3 separate regions of the Homo sapiens genome follow, and regions 1 and 2 are each linked to region 3. Evidence: promoter capture Hi-C in 16 types of primary human blood cells and fetal thymus (Javierre and others, 2016). All regions are on one chromosome and are shown on one strand. The core of a region is centred on a gene start or on the middle of the fragment in contact, and the rest is flanking DNA. Distances in the headings are between cores, read along the strand shown. Region 1 overlaps THAP4 (THAP domain containing 4). Region 2 overlaps ATG4B (autophagy related 4B cysteine peptidase). Region 3 holds the start of PASK (PAS domain containing serine/threonine kinase).

Evidence for each region. Contacts are between HindIII fragments. The CHiCAGO score rates a contact against its expected background, and 5 or more counts as called.
Region 1: a fragment that was not itself captured here is called in contact with the fragment with the promoter of PASK in region 3 in 1 of 17 cell types (total B cells); the score reaches 5.4 in total B cells.
Region 2: a contact is called between a fragment that was not itself captured here and the fragment with the promoter of PASK in region 3, in 1 of 17 cell types (neutrophils). The highest score is 9.1, in neutrophils.

The regions. Positions count from the first base shown.
Region 1 is chr2:241,602,700-241,605,755 of GRCh38, forward strand. It overlaps THAP4 (THAP domain containing 4), which reads right to left. Exons shown (of 6, transcript NM_015963.6): 4 at 271-380. Among named protein-coding and RNA genes, the nearest start is that of THAP4, 33 kb to the right of the region's middle. The HindIII fragment of the contact is 8,965 bases long and covers 1-3,056 here.
Region 2 is chr2:241,640,240-241,643,717 of GRCh38, forward strand. The region is part of intron 1 of ATG4B (autophagy related 4B cysteine peptidase); the gene reads left to right. Among named protein-coding and RNA genes, the nearest start is that of ATG4B, 4.3 kb to the left of the region's middle. The HindIII fragment of the contact is 477 bases long and covers 1,372-1,848 here.
Region 3 is chr2:241,147,889-241,150,988 of GRCh38, forward strand. PASK (PAS domain containing serine/threonine kinase) reads right to left here and starts at 1,584. Exons shown (of 18, transcript NM_015148.4): 1 at 1,526-1,584. PPP1R7 (protein phosphatase 1 regulatory subunit 7) reads left to right here and starts at 2,579. Exons shown (of 10, transcript NM_002712.3): 1 at 2,579-2,659. The coding sequence starts at 2,608. RefSeq lists enhancers at 538-697, 2,211-2,370 and silencers at 951-1,000, 1,051-1,110, 1,171-1,530, 2,661-3,000. The HindIII fragment of the contact is 12,026 bases long and covers 1-3,100 here.

The DNA.
Region 1 (3,056 bases), core at 134-2,633, 450 kb after region 3:
TGATGGCCATTTCTGCAGACGTGGCACTGGGTAAACGGGCCCTCATGGTCAGGGGGCTGCACGCACACAACCTGTGTGCCGGAGGCCCCTACAGCTACACAGTCGGCCCCGCAGGCTCCCAGGACCACTCTCAACACTCAGGGCCATCCCCACGGTCCCCACCAGCACATGCCTCAGCAGGGTTGCACATGGGCATCCCTGCACCCCTGCTTCGAATGCAGGCAGCAGCCTCCCATGGCCAGCCCTCCCGCCCCGCAAGCTGGGCCTCACCTGTGTTCTGGGCGCTGACAAAGGCCACCTTGTTGGTGTCGGGCTTGAGGCGAATGAAGCCACACTCTCTGTGCATCGGCTTGCGCGTGTCCGGGTGGAAGGAGTTGAACCTGGACGGGAAGTTGGAGTTGAGAAGCCCAGGCACTGGCCTCCAAGATGGCGTGGGCTGCGTGGATGCCAGAACTGTCCAGGGTGCCCTCCAGGTGGCTGCTCCAGCCACACCCGCACACCTGTCTGCCCCTACCACCACCTTGCTCATTTTGGCTGTGTCTGTCTTACCTGCTGACCCTCCACTCCTGAAGACGGGCTGTTCCAGCCACGCCCACACACCTGCCCGCCCCCTCCACCACCTTGCTCATTTTGGCTGTGTCTGTCTTGCCTGCTGACCCTCAGCTCCTGAAGACGGGCTGTTCCAGCCACACCCGCACACCTGCCCGCCCCCTCCAGCGCCTTGCTCATTTTGGCTGTGTCTGTCTTACCTGCTGACCCTCAGCTCCTGAAGACGGGCTGTTCCAGCCACACCCGCACACCTGCCCGCCCCCTCCACCACCTTGCTCATTTTGGCTGTGTCTGTCTTGCCTGCTGACCCTCAGCTCCTGAAGACAGCACTGTTCTTAATCACCTCAGGGCATATCCTTGCCCTGGGCCCGTTAGCCCAGGCCTCACACAGTGTCAGCCCTCAGCACTCCCTTGCAGTAAACCTCACCCTAACACAATCTTTCTCTTTTGAGCTATGCTCTTGTGTAAGAATCTAATCAATTCCTACGGTAAAAAACAGAACAGGTGCTGAGTTATGGTATGGTTTCTTATCACCCTTCATCATTAGTGCAAATTCTCAACAGTAAAAGACAGGCACCTGCATCTTGAACTGAGGGCACAAAACCACGGCTTAAAAACTAACTCGCTGGCATGGTGACTCAAGGCCGTAATCCCAGCACTTCAGGGGCCCAGTCGGGTAGATCTCTTGAGCCTAGGAATTTGAGACAGGGCTGGGCAACACAGACCCTGTTTCTACAAAAATAAAAACAAAAAAACCAAACCAAAAAAAAAAAAGCCTCATTTATCATTTCACCAACCTTATGAGTTTCTATAGGGAATCCATCTCTATGATTCTTAGAGATAAACTTTATTTATTTATTTTTTTGCTCTGTCACCCAGGCTCGTCGCGGTCTCAGCTCAGTGAAACCTCCGCTTCCTGGGTTGAAATGATTCTCCTGTCTCAGCCTCCTGAGTAGCTGGGATTACAGGCGCCCACCACACCCGGCTAATTTATTTATTTATTTATTTATTTATTTTTTGAGACAGAGTTTCTCTCTTGTTGCCCAGGCTGGAGTGCAATGGCGCTATCTTGGCTCACTGCAACCTCCGCCTCCTGAGTTCAAGCGATTCTCCTGCCTCAGCCTTACCGAGTAGCTGGGATTACAGGCATGCGCCACCATGCCCGGCTAATTTTGTAATTTTAGTAGAGACCAGGTTTCTCCATGTTGGTCAGGCTGATCTTGAACTCCCAACCTCAGGTGATCTGCCCACCTCAGCCTCTCAAAGTGCTGGGATTACAGGTGTGAGCCACTGTGCCCAGCCACACACCCGGCTAATTTTTGTATTTTTGTATTTTTTTTTAGTAGAGACACAATTTCACCACATTGGCCAGGCTGGTCTCGAACTCTTGACTTCTAGTGATCCACCTGCCTTGACCTCCCAAAGTGCTGGGATTACAGGCGTCAGCCACCGCACCTGGCCAAGATAAACTTATTTATTTATTAAAACAAATTTTTTTAGGGTCTCACTGTGTTGCCCAGGCTGGTCTTGGACTCCTGGACTCAAGTGATCCACCCGCCTTGGCCTCCCAAAGTGCTGGGATTACAGGCACGAGCCACCGCGCTGGGCCAAGATAAATTTCTGTTGGGCTAGTGATGGTGCTACACCTTCTAGAATGGTACATGCTCACTAACATAACCCCGACAAAGAAATACATTTATACCATATTCTAGGACACACACACAAACACACATACCATCACATTTACTGAAATATATTTTCCACTCTGGTTCATTTTTCTTCGAATGCTAGTCACAAAATTGACTTTCTGACCTTTTCGTGGGTTATAATCTATAGTTTAAAAAAGACTGCTTGGGTTCTGGGTTATTTTGTATTACCCAGAATTCTCACCTTTTGGTTTATGTGCAGATGTATTACTTTGACCTCATGCATTCAATCAATAATAATATAAAAAGGTAGGAGATATTTTTAAAAACAATGAGATCTTCTAAAAGGGGATGGAGGGTCTCAGAGCTGGGGGTCTGAGAGCCAGGTGCCCAGCCCCGTTCTGAAACTGCTAGGCATTATACAAATAGTACCAAGTTGGTTTAATAAGATTCTTAACATATAGTTGTGTAATGGAGACTAAGGGAGGGTTTGCTTTTTATATTTTGTTTAAACTTTAAAAAAACTGTGTATTACTTCTATAATTAAAAAATAAAGATACTTCAACCACTCCCCATCCCTGGTGGCTCTCCTCTACTTCAGAGGCCTACACTGCTATCTCCCTAAAAGCAGGCAATTTCTCCACCTGTGGGGAGCAGGTGGTGGGAAGGGATACTGAGGGACCTCAAGGGGCTTTTGCTTTCTTGTACGGTAAGAATATGAGAACCACATACTAACAGCTTCCTTGTGACCCCAAATAGCTCAGGGGTACGTGTAAAATACAAACATGCACTATTATTTTCAGTAATATTGGGTGACTAATTTTTTTCTTTTTTTTTTTGAGACAGGTTCTCACTCTGTCA
Region 2 (3,478 bases), core at 360-2,859, 490 kb after region 3:
TGTTGCTGCATGTGGGATCAGAGTAGAAAAGGTGTTTGCATTTAAAGGTCTCTGTTTATGCTGATAAAAACGTATATGATGTTTGTAGGATATCATGGGGAATTTTCCTTCTGACTTGATGCTGTATTTCCTTTCAGAGATGATTAATGATCTGCCCTCCTTTGATCTCTAGAGTTCTTGAAGATTCTGCCTTCCTTGACCATGTGTAATACAGTTTCTGTTCTGATAGTCATTAATTCAATACACTGTTTGTTACTGACTGTCAGATATGTGTTAGGCATTGTTCTAGACACTAGGACTAGAGAAGTAACAACATAGATGAAAACCATTGCCCTGGGGTAGCTAACGTTCTAGACATGAGACCAGCATTAGCAGCGAAGTGCGTGGCTCCTGGGGGATGGTGATTTGGGCCAAGGATGAGGAGGATTGGAATTGTAGCCAGGATGGCCAGGAAGGGTCTCACTCTGAAGGTTTAAGTTTTGACGAAGACTTAAAGCAGTGTAGGAGGAAGGGCAGGTAGCAAGAGCCTGGTGTGGCTCAGGTGCAGCGGGTGGCGGTGGGAGAAGCAGGAGCTGAGGATAGAAAGGTGACTTAGGCTCAGTGTAGTGGGGCCTTGCCAGCTCATAGTGAGGACTCGGTGTTTATTCTGAACAGGATGGCAGCTCATAGTGAGGACTCAGTGTTTATTCTGAACAGGATGGCAGCCGTTTGGAAGGTTTCATTCTAGAGGAGGAGTCACATGATAGACTGTGTTCAACAGGCTTGCTCTGGCATCTCTTTTGAGAATGTACTGCAGAGGGGCAAGGGCAGAGGCAGCGAGACCAGCTAAGAGACTGTTGAACAAGCCAGCAAGGAGATGCCAGTGGATTAGCTCAGGGTGGGTAAGAGGTTGACTTCTGCATGTGTTTTGGAGGTTGAGACAATAGAATTTGTTTGTAGATTGGAAGTTGGGAGAGGGATGGGTAGAGAGGGAGGAGTTAAAGATGGCCCCATAGTGTATGGCCTGAGCTAAGCAACTCAGATGGAGGGGGGCGGGCGTGGTGGCTCACGCCTGTAATCCCAGCACTTTGAGAGGCCGAGGTGGGCGGATCACAAGGTCAGGAGATCGAGACCATCCTGGCTAACACGGTGAAACCCCGTCGCTACTAAAAATACAAAAAATTAGCCGGGCATAGTGGCGGGCGCCTGTGATCCCAGCTACGCAGGAGGCTGAGGCAGGAGAATGGCGTGAACCCGGGAGGCGGAGCTTGCAGTGAGCCAAGACTGCGCCACTGCACTCCAGCCTGGGCGACAGAGCGAGACTCTGTCTCAAAAAAAAAAAAAAAAAGAAACTCAGATGGGGAAGACTTGGGGAGGTCCTGTCTGGTGGGAAGCTTTCTGTTGCGAGTTTGGATTTATGTGTGTTGAATGTGAGGTGGATGTTAGACATCCTTGTAGAGCAGTGTCCAGTGGGCTTTTGGGTCTACAGGTTTGGAGCTAAAAGAATAAGCCTGGGCTGGAGATAGACTGGAGGTCACATCAGATGAGGTCACCCAGGGTGTGAATGTGGGTGGGAAAGAAAAGAGGCCAAAGGCCTCTGCGGGTGTGGAGAGGTCCAGGAGGTGGCAGGCAGACCACAGTGTGGCTGTGTTCTCCACCAGTCCCTAGCACTGTCCCTAAAAGCATGCTCCCCATTCAGACGACTGGCAGGTGCCAGCACTTAAATAGCCACACTGCCCATTCCTTGAGGACAGAGCTGGTGTCTTGTGCTTGCATTTCTAGTGCATCACTTGTGTCTGGCATGTGGTTGGTAATAAAAAAAAAACAGAACTTGAATTAATAATAACCTACACATTCCCCTACTATCAAAGCTTTCAGTTTGTAGAGTTTAACATAAATCCAGTATGTTAGCATAACATGTAATGAATGCAGAGGCTGCTGGGGAGTGGTTTTTTTTTTTTTCTTGAGATGGAGTCTTGCTCTGTTTCCCAGGCTGGAGTGCGGTGGGCGCGATCTAGGGGAGTGGGTTTTAATGTGCGCAATCTGCCCAGTGTGTGCACTGAAACAGTGTTTTCTAGCTTTCTGATGTAGCTAAATTTGGAGTTCCTTTCTCTCTTTCTCTGTTTTCATTCAGGACTGAACTACTAGCATTCTCATGTAAACTCTTGGAGATTTAAAAAAAAGTAGTAATCATATGCAAACTGTTATCTTAAACCTAAGAGCTTTCTAAAGGAAAAGAAGAACCTTTGTTGAATTTATAAAATATAAATCTTTTGGAAAATAACTTCTAAGTGTTTTAGGAAGGTTTCTTCGAAATGAAGTGGTTTACAGTAAGCTCTTAAATTTACTCGTTTTTTTTTGTAGTCCTCTCTGGTTGAATGAAGTGTAATTGGTACTAAATGGAGAGAAGTTGGTTAAATTCATTGAGTACAATTCCCTACATTTCTGCCTGTCAGATTAGTAGTACTAAGTCACATGTTTTTTCTGATGGAATTACTATATTATTAAAATGCCATCTGCCCTCTTCTGCTTGTGATCGCAGAAGTCCCAGGGAAGAGGGCGTGGAAAATCAAGTGTCTGGGATCCAGCCGACCAAATGGGAGAACTGCTTCTAAGGGGGACTCTTTCTTAAGGTGTACAGCACCTCTCCGTCCTTTTTTTTTTTTTTTTTTTTTTTTTTAAGACGGAGTCTCACTGTCGCCCAGACTGGCTGGAGTGCAGTGGCTCTATCTCAGCTCACTGCAGCCTTCGCCTCCTGGGTTCAAGAGATTCTCCTGCCTCAGCCTCCCGAGTAGCTGGGATTACAGGTGTGCACCACCATGCCTGGCTAACTTTTTTATATTTTTAGTAGAGATGGGGTTTCACCATGTTGGCCAGGCTGTTCTCGAACTTCTGACCTCAAGTGATCTGCCCGCCTCGGCCTCCCAAAGTGCTGGGATTACAGGTGAACCACCACACCCAACCTACTTCTTCATCTTGTTCCTCCTGCGTGTCATCTTTTTTTGAGGCAGGGTCTCACTTCATCGCTCAGACTGGAGTATGGTGTTGCGGCCTCAGCTCATTGCAGCCTTGACCTCCTGGGCTCAAGTGATCTTCTTGCCTCACATTCCTCAGTAGCTAAGACTACAGATGTCCACGCCTAGCTATTTTTTTTTTTTTTTTTTTTTTAAGAGAGACAGGGTCTCCCTGTATTGCCCAGGCTGGTCTCAAACTCCTGGGCTCAAGTGATCCTCCCATCTTGGCTTCTTAAAGTGCTGGGATTACAGGCATGAGCCACGGCACCTGGCCTTACATGTCATCTTATTTCAAATTAATATCATTACCTGGAAGTCTAGAGATGGGTCTATATATTTATTTATGTATATATGTACATATATATATAAACATATATATACGTATATATACACATAAATATATACACATATATGTATAAATATATATATACGTGTGTGTGTGTGTGTGTATGTATATATTTTCCCCCCCCCCCGTCGTCCAGGCT
Region 3 (3,100 bases), core at 334-2,833:
AAAGATGCATCCTTTTTCCCGCTGTGCCTCCTGGGCATCTGAAGTCCACGTGGGCCAGTTTGTCACTGAACAGCATAGGCCCCTGGAGCCTCCCGTGCACTCCACAGCCACAGCCTGGCCTCAAGAAAGAACAGAGTCTGGCTTCACATGACCTTAGATCACTAAATTTTGACTCAGACGTTAACCAGAAATACCTGCACGTCCAGGCCCAAATTTTTAAAATTGTCCTTTGTATCCACTGTGAGCTGCAGACACGGGAACCCAAACCCAGCAGACAGCACCTAATGGTGCCACCGAGTAACCATATTCCCATTGCTAGTTTTGATTCCAGAAGACACAAGTGACCCCACCTCAGACCAAACAGAAGCAAGGACAACTTTGCAGGGAGCATCTCGGCGAACTTCTAGAAGCAACTGTCCCCCTCCCACCAGAACATAAGCTAAGAAGCAAACAGCTCCCATTGCTGTCAGCACAGCTGTACAACAAAAAGGAGAACCAGTTTCAGGATGAGGCCAACAAGGTGAACAGTGCAGTAGAACACAGCAAGGATGTCAGTCCTGGAGGAGGCACCTGCAGAGCCGGGCCCTACCAAGCAGAGTGAAGAAGTCTTTCAGAGGCAAAGCCTCCCAGAGAGGAGTTCAGTACCCAGAAGAGTAGGTGGACGTGGGCCTGGAAGGGCCAAGCATGAGCCCAGAGCCTCCTATGCCTGCCCAAAGTCTTAATTTTATCCCCAAAATGAACTTTTAAGGATTCAATGCTTAGGAGTAACATGGCCAGATATGCATTTTACAAAGATTACTCCAGGGACCATGTCGGTGCAAGGCTGGAAAGCAGGAGAAAGGCTACAGTAATCCAGGCAAGAAATTATAAAGTCTTAAATTAAGGTAGCAGCAGAAAGATGAAGAGAGGGAACCCCTAAGAGAAAAATGGACATCGAATGGTACTGAGATGCGGAAGGTAAGGACGAGAAAGGCCTCAAGACGGCAGCGCAGGCCCCTGCCGTACTCTGGGAAAGAAAAATTAGTGAAAAAATTAAGGCTCAAGTCCAGGTCTTTGCTGTAACCACGAGCGCCGGCGGCGCGCGCCCCCGACCCCGCGGCGCCGGCTGAGCCCGCAGGGACCCACACGCCCAGTGCAGGAGGCTGGCGGGATCCGGGCTGGTTCTCCTGGAGCTCGCCCCGCAGGGCCGGCTGCGGTGAAGAGAGCGCAGGGTCCCGAGGCGACCCGAGGCGCGGGGCCTCGGCGCCCACCGGGCAGGCTACACTGAAGGGCACCCCGAAGACGCTGGGGGCGCGGGGCCCAGGGCCAACGGCCGCAACCCCGCCGCGATTTGGGCACGGAGAGGACGCGGGCTCGGCGGTGCGCGAAGGGCGACGGGCGCAGGGGCGGGAGACCCGGGGTCGGGCTGGTCTAAGAGTCGGGCGGCGGATCCTCCTGGGCCAGGGGCGCGGAGCCGCGCAGGCCCCACAGCCGCCCTGGGGAGATGGCGGAGCCCGGCCCGCTCTCCCGAGCGCAGGTATCTCACCTGGATCAGGCGAGGGTCACGCCAAGCCGGCTACACACCACGGAAAGGAGCCCTTCCGCGCTTTTATCCCACCGACCAATCGCACAGCGACTAGCACCGATTGACAAGCTCCACGGACCAGCCACTTGCGCGTATGGGCGGGACTAAGCTAGCCAGAGTCTAGAAGCCCGCGCTAAGGGTTGCTAGGGACGCACCAAACACCCCTACGGCGCTTCGGAGGAGCCAAAGGAATAATGGGCGCCTCCGCCCCCGGGCCGGGCAGATGCGGTTTCCTCCCGACTCGCGATCAAAATGGGTGAGTAGCGCAGAGCTCGCCTCTTGGAGGCCTCTTTCTGAAGGCGGAGGACGCGGGGCGGCTCGTTCATGGGCCGGGTGGCTCCGCAGGGTAGACGAAGGCTGCAGCGTCCGCACTGGGCTGGGAACGACTTGCAAGGGGAGCCCAGCTGGCGCCCCGGAGCCAGCCAGCTGGCTAGCGGCCCCACCAGCGCAAGTGCCCCGCACCTGCCCGCCTGCTCCGAGCGTCAAGAGAAGGCGGCATTTCGCATGGGTAAAATCCGCGCGGGGACGCCGGGAGAATGTTGTTGCTCTTGCCGTTCGGCCCATTGTACAGACGCAGCCAGCGAGGCTCGCAGAGGTCAGGGATGCACGTAGGACTGGCCCGCACCTTGCAGCCACGGAAAGATCCGCCTGGCCCGCGGCCCCTCCACGCCTCCGAGGTCGAGACAGTGACATAAGTCAACTCTCAAGCCCAGGGCGTCTCTCCACTCTGCCTAGACGTCCACTCCGTCTGCCTGCAGCTACGGCTCTGTGCGTCCCGCTTCGACTCCCTCTGCTTTCCTTCCCAGCTTCTCGCCTCCAGACTGTTCCGGCTCCGCCGCCTGAAATTACCTGCTCTGGGGGAGGCGCGGCGCGCGGCCTCATGACGGAACTACAACTCCCATGAGGCGCTGGGCCCACGCAGGCGCGGCGCGGCTGAAGTCGCCGCGCCGGAATCCCATTGGCAGGGCCGGCTCTGAGGCGGGAGCCCTGATTGGCTGAGGGGTCTGAGGCGACAGATTCCGGAAAGGGGAAGAGCAGCCAACATGGCGGCGGAACGCGGCGCGGGGCAGCAACAGTCGCAGGAGATGATGGAGGGTGAGCGGCCCCTGCGGGCGGCGGCCCAAGGGCCCAGCGGGCGGGGGGAGCTGCGGGCTGGAACTGCTCCGTGCCTGAGAGAAACTCCACGTCCTGCCTCTGGCCGCCGCCGCGCGGCCCCCTGACAGCTGACAGCCGGACCCGGGGGAGCGGGGGAGGCGCTGGACCTCGGGGGAGCCCCGGCCCGGGGGCGGCAGCGGCCGGGAAGGACCCAGAGCTAGGGGGAGAGCGGCGGCGCGAGGCCAGGCCGGGGGTGGGGCTGAATGGGACGCGGTGGCTCCATTCAGTCCAGTTGGAGCCTCGCCCCGAGCCTCTGAGATTGACGGGCGGGGGAGCCTCCTCGGTCAGCTGACGAGGAAACTGAGGCGCTGGGATCTACCAGAGTCTGCTCCTTGGTTCACGTGGTGAGGGTGGAGAAGGGTCTTCTCTTGAAATCGAATG